Regions from separate parts of the Homo sapiens genome. Here region 1 is linked to region 2. Evidence: promoter capture Hi-C in human tissues and cell types (Jung and others, 2019). All regions are on one chromosome and are shown on one strand. The core of a region is centred on a gene start or on the middle of the fragment in contact, and the rest is flanking DNA. Distances in the headings are between cores, read along the strand shown.

Region 1 (2,958 bases), core at 261-2,760, 370 kb before region 2:
TCGCTCTCCTCCCTTCCCCCCGGAAGTCCCTCGCTCTCCTCCCTTCCCCCCGGAAGTCCCTCGCTCTCCTCCCCTTCTGAGCGGTGACCCCCACCCCGAAGCCGGCGAGGCACCGCGGAACCCGGTCTGCCTGCGCTACCGCCCCCTGCTGGCCAGGCCCTCTTCCCAATCGCCCCGAAACCATTCACATCACCCACGTGTGCACGTTTTGTCCACATTTAGATCCCTGATCCATTTGCAGCTTATTCCTGTGAACGGTGTAATTTTTTGGGGGGCGGGGGGAAGGCGGGGTCTCGCTCTGTCACCCAGGCTGGAGTGCAGTGGCGCCATCTCGGCTCACTGCAAGCTCCACCTCCCGGGCTCAACCAATTCTCCTGCCTCAGCCCCCTGAGTAGCTGGGATTACAGGCCCGCACCACCATGCCTGGCTAACTTTCGTATTTTTAGTACAGATGGGGTTTTTCTTTTCTTTTCTTTTCTTTTGAGATGGAGTCTCACTGCTGCCCAGGCTGGAGTGCAGTGGCGCGATCTCGGCTCGCTGCAAGCTCCGCCTCCCGGGTTCACGCCATTCTCCTGGCTCAGCCTCCCGAGTAGCTGGGACTACAGGCGCCCGCCACCACGCCCGGCTAATTTTTTTGTATTTTTAGTAGAGACGGGGTTTCACTGTGTTAACAAGGATGGTCTCGATCTCCTGACCTCGTGATCCGCCTGCCTCGGCCTCCCAAAGTGCTGGGATCACAGGCGCGAGCCACTGCGCCTGCCCGAGATGGGGTTTCACCATGTTGGCCAGGCTGGTCTCGAACTCCTGATCTCAACTGATCTGCCCCCCCTTGGCCTCCCAAAGTGCTAGGATTACAGGCGTGAGCCGCCACACTCGACCTGAACGGTGTAATTTATACATGTAAAACCATCTTGTTCAGACAGCTCACCAGTTGTCCTAGCACCTTTCATTACAAACTGCATTTTTGCCCCACTGATCTGAAATACCCACTTTATTAACTAAATTTCCATGTTGCTAGGTCTATTTCCAGATATTCCATTTTTGTCCATCTGTCTGCTTCCTGGTCATGTGTCACATACCTTAATTACAGCGGCTTTAGAGGATGCTGCAGTGTCCACAGGGAAGCATCAGTTTTGTCTCCTGGGTTTCTTGGGCACCATCAGACGTCTGTGCCCCCACATGAACTTCAGCGTCAATCTGCATTAACTCCACAAAAAGCTTTTGGTGCTGTTGTAACTGGGATTATGTTTCATTTCTGAATTAAGAATGGGATTTTTATGATGTTGTCATCCCATCAAAGAACAAGGAATTTGCCCGTTTGTTCAAGTCTATGTGGTTTTTTTTTTTTTTTTTTTTTTTTTTTTTTTTTTTTGAGACAGTCTTGCTCTGCCACCCAGGCTGGAGTGCAGTGGTGTGATCTTGGCTCACTGCAAGCTCCACCTCCTGAGTTCACACCATTCTCCTGTCTCAGCCTCCTAAGCAGCTGGGACTACAGGCGCCCGCCACCACACCTGGCTAACTTTTTGTATTTTTCATAGAGATGGGGTTTCACCATGTTAGCCAGGATGGTCTCGATCTCCTGACCTCGTGATCCACCCGCCTCAGCCTCCCAAAGTGCTGGGATTGCAGGCGTGAGCCATCGCGCCTGGCCTAGAAGTTTTTAATTAGCCTGGTGTGGTGGTGTGCACCTGTAGTCTCAGCTACTTGAGAGGATGAGGAGGAAGGATCGCTTGAGCCCTGGAGGTCGAGGCTGCAGTGAGCTGTGATCACACCACTGCACTGCAGCCTGTGGGACAGAGCAAATCCCCATCTAAAAAAAAAAAGTGTTTTAAAGTTTCCTCATGGCCGGGCACGGCCCGGTGGCTCACGCCTGTAACCCCAGCATTTTGGGAGGCCGAGACGGACAGATCATGAGGTCAGGAGTTTGAGACCAGCCAGGCCAACATGGTGAAATCCCGTCTCTACTAAAAATACAAAAATTAGCCGGGCGTGGTGGCAGGTACCTGTAATACCAGCTACTTGGGAGGCTGAGGCAGGAGAATCACTTGAACCCAGGAGGTGGAGGTTGCAGTGAGCCGAGATCATGCCACTGCACTCCAGCCTGGATGACAGAGCGAGACTCTGTCTCAAACAAACAAACAAACAAAAAGTTTCCTCATTTAGGTTTTATACATTTCTTGATAAATTTATTTCTAAGCATTGTTTTATTGCTATTATAAATAAGTTTTCTCTACTATCATATCACCTCACTGGTTATTGGTTGTGTAGATGAAGACCATCTATGTTTTGACGGCAACTTCACCTCCTCTAACTTACTAAATGTTTTTACTGATTCTACAGGGCTTTCCATGTATATCATATAATGCACACAAGAGATAGTTCACTTTTTTGCAAATCTGTTTTGCCCAATTGCATTAGGTAACACTTCCAGTACACACACACACACATATAGCTACAGACACAGGCGTCCTAAGAAAGTATTCACCAATTCCTATTTTGAGTGCGTCTATCAATAGTAGGTACCACATTTTCCCAAAGGCTTCATCAACACCTATGGATACAATCACATGCCTTATCTTCTTAGATGGATTCATATGGTGTAGTATTTAATAGGCTTTCTAATTGAACCAGTTGCAGTCTTAAATTCCACTTGGTCATGGTTTATTATTTTCTCAATGTGGTTTTGTATTATTTGCTAATATTTAACATAACTAATTTGAATCAATATAATTAACACTGTAATTTTTCATTTTTGTGGTCTTTTATCACATTTTGCTTTTAACTTTTATTTATGAGATGGAGTTTTGCTCTTGTTGCCCAGGCTGGAGTGCAATGGCGCTATCTCGGCTCATTGCAACCTCCACCTCCCGGGTTCAAGAGATTCTCCTGCCTCAGCCTCCCAAGTAGCTGGGATCACAGGTGCCTGCCACCATGCCCGGCTAATTTTGTATTTTTAGT
Region 2 (3,070 bases), core at 571-3,070:
CGCCCGCCACCATGCCTGGCTAATTGTTTTTGTATTTTTAGTAGAGACAGGGTTTCACCATGTTGGCCAGGCTGGTTTTGAACTCCTGACCTTAAGTGATCCGCTCACCTCGGCCTCCCAGACTGCTGGGATTATAGGCGTGAGCCACCATGCCCGGCCTCCAAACCCTCTTTGGAAAAAGCAGAGCACAGATGTTGCCTGTGGCTTCGTGTTTCTTTTTCCTGGGTGCACCCTTAACCTTGGCAAGATACACCTCTAAACTGATTGATTGAGACCCATCTCAGACACCTTCTGGCTTTTACAGAGGTGAGAACAGACTGGGTGCAGGAGCCTGGGTTCCCAGGCTGTGGCAGCCTCCATGTCCACCTGCTCCCCGAGCCCCCAGCCCAAGATGGAGGAAGGGCCGCCCTGCGTGGGTGGTGCATGGTGCAGCAGTGCAGCTCCAGCCTAGGCCACGCCCTGTCTCTCTCTCCTCCCCCAGTCCCAAATTCCCAGGAATCCCAGCCCCACTGGCTAAACACCGGGGTGCAGTCACAGAGAGGATGGCCTCGGCCTGGGGGTAGGAGCTGTGCAGGGGGCCCCGTCTCCCACCACCAATGGCAGGGGTAAGAGCCATGCATGACCCCCTGGCCCCGAGTCCTTCACAGAGTGGGTGGGAGACGGCAGCACTGGAGATGAAGGCCAGAGCAGACTCCAGCAGCCGCGGTGGCAGGTGCAGAGGGAGGCGCAAGGGCGGACACGGGTCACCTCCTGCTGCAACCCTGCATGGGTGAAGCCAGGTGCAGACACCACCGGATGCCCACTGAATTCCGCCACAGTAACTCACGCCGTCACTCCCCACGGAGACCCCGCCCCACAATAACTCACGCCGTCACTCCCCACGGAGCCCCCGCCCCACAGCAGAATAATTCTGGCCTCATGGAAGTGGCTCCCACCTAAAAGATGACCCAGACCAGGTGCGGTGCTCACGCCTGTAATCCCAGCACTTCGGGAGGCCGAGTCGGGCGGATCACCTGAGGTCAGGAGTTCGAGACCAGCCTGGGCAACATGGTGAAACCCTGTCTCTACTAAAAAGACAAAAAAAATTAGCTGGGCATGGTGGCAGGTGCCTGTAATCCCAGCTACTCAGGAGGCTGAGGCAGGAGAATCACCCGAACCTGGGAGGCAAAGGTTGCCGTGAGCCGAGATCGCGCCACCGCACTCCAGACTTGGCAACAAAGCAAGACTCCTGCCTAAAAAAAAAAGAAAAAAAAAAAAAAGGCCCAGAATAAGGGTTAGGGAGGCAAGGGTCCCTGGGGACTCCATGGGGGTCAGGATGCAGAGACAGCTGTTGCTGCCCCTCCTCTGGGCCCAGGACCCCGCCCCAACCTGCCTCGGCCCTCTCATCCCATGCACCTGCTCTCGGTCTCTGCTCAGGCCCTGCCTCTCCTGGTCGGAAGCCACCTCTCCAGCCTGCTTGGTCCCTGGTACTAGAAGAAACCACTCCCGTGTTCCCACTTAGATCGAGTGTTCATGCAGTGTGGCGTTCGTGCCGTGTGGATGCTGCTGAGGTGTGAACCCTGTCACAGACCAAGGCTCCAGTGAGCCACAGCGTGGCCAGGCGGAAGCAGAAGAGACCGGTGACCCCCACTCAACTCAGCCTCTCCTTCCTCCAGGGAGAGTGTCCTGGAGGTACCTGTCCGAGTGACAGGGAAGGGGCGGGGCCGGGAGCCAAGGCTGGAAGCTCAGCCCCACTCAGCCTTTGCAAATGCTCTAGTGGGAGCAGCTGGCCTCAGGGGAGGGCTTAAAACTCCAGGAGAGCCTGGGCAGGTGCGGACGCGAGGGGAGTGGAGGGGAGGCCTCGCCTGGCCCACCTTCCTCCTGCCCCTCTACCATGTGGCCCTTCCCGAGCCGCTCTCTCTTCCCACCCCCGACTCAGGCCTGGCTCCAGACGGTCTCCTCAGACCCTGAGGCCCAGGGCTGGGGGGCCTGGAACGAGACCAAGGAGATTCTGGGGCCAGAGGGTGGGGAAGGGAAGGAGGAGAAAGAGGAGGAAGAGGATGCAGAGGAAGACCAGGATGGGGATGCAGGCTTTCTGCTGTCTCTGCTGGAGCAAGAGAACCTGGCTGAGTGCCCATTGCCTGACCAGGTAACAGCTGTGTGGAGGCCCTGGGGATCTCAGGGGACCTGGGGCACAGGGGCTGGTGGAGACACGGGGTCTGGGTGACGGATGGCTGCAGCTGACTTAGGAGGGGAGAGGGCCATTGCCCACCTGCCTGGACGAAGGTGGCAAGGAGACCCCCCGCCCCCAGCCACACAGACTGCAGGGTCAAGGTGGCCTCTCTCGCCTGGGGAAGGGCCCTTGAGGTGCGGTTTCGGGGGCTTCTCTGCAGGGGCGAGTTCATCCCCAGCCAGCTGCCCCAGGAAGGAGTGTCCCTGTCCAGAGAAGGGCTGCCCCTTGGGGCTGTGACCCTCTGCTGGAGCTGGCAGGCCACACACCCACCTTCCTTGAGCAGAGCCTGCAGGCTGCCTGCCCGGCTCAGGGCCGTGTGTCGGCAGGAGCTGGAGGCCATCAAGATGAAGGTGTGTGCCATGGAGCAGGCCGAGGGGACGCCACGGCCTCCAGGAGTGCAGCAACAGGCCGAGGAAGAGGAGGGCACCGCGGCCGGGCAGCTGCTGAGCCCTGAGACCGTGGGTAGGAACCAAGGGCACAGGCCGCCCCCCACTGAGCAAGGGTCCCACAGTTTCCATTAAGGTTGGGCCTGGCAGGCTCCAAGGTGTCACCTCCCCTATAAGCCTGGGCGACCTTCCCCGTGAGAGGAGTGAGGAAGGAACCAAGGGCCTGCGGGCCTGAGCTGTGTTCTCCGCAGGCTGCCCCCTCTCTGGGACCCCCGAGGAGAAGGTGGAGGCTGACCACAGATCCGTCTACGTGGGCAACGTGAGTGGTGGGCGGGGTGAAGGGGCAGGCAGCGAATGGGGCCCCATCTCTACCAGAGGGTCTGGCGCCCGGCCATGGGCCAGGCAGCCTTGCTGGGAAGGGGGTCTGACCCTGGGGGCAGCCCCGTCACCTTGAGGAAACACTGGCCTGGGC

What was found. The method cuts DNA at HindIII sites, captures the fragments that hold promoters and counts their contacts. A contact is called where the count stands out against the background at its distance.
Region 1: a fragment that was not itself captured here is called in contact with the fragment with the promoter of PABPN1L in region 2 in 1 of the 25 tissues and cell types used here (lymphoblastoid cells).

What each region holds. Positions count from the first base shown.
Region 1 is chr16:89,238,159-89,241,116 of GRCh38, reverse strand. No RefSeq gene overlaps it. Among named protein-coding and RNA genes, the nearest start is that of ZNF778, 22 kb to the right of the region's middle. RefSeq lists a silencer at 1-89. The HindIII fragment of the contact is 4,092 bases long and covers 1-2,958 here.
Region 2 is chr16:88,865,410-88,868,479 of GRCh38, reverse strand. It overlaps PABPN1L (PABPN1 like, cytoplasmic), which reads left to right and starts at 1,820. Exons shown (of 7, transcript NM_001080487.4): 1 at 1,820-2,128; 2 at 2,539-2,674; 3 at 2,850-2,917. The coding sequence starts at 1,874. The HindIII fragment of the contact is 11,880 bases long and covers 1-3,070 here.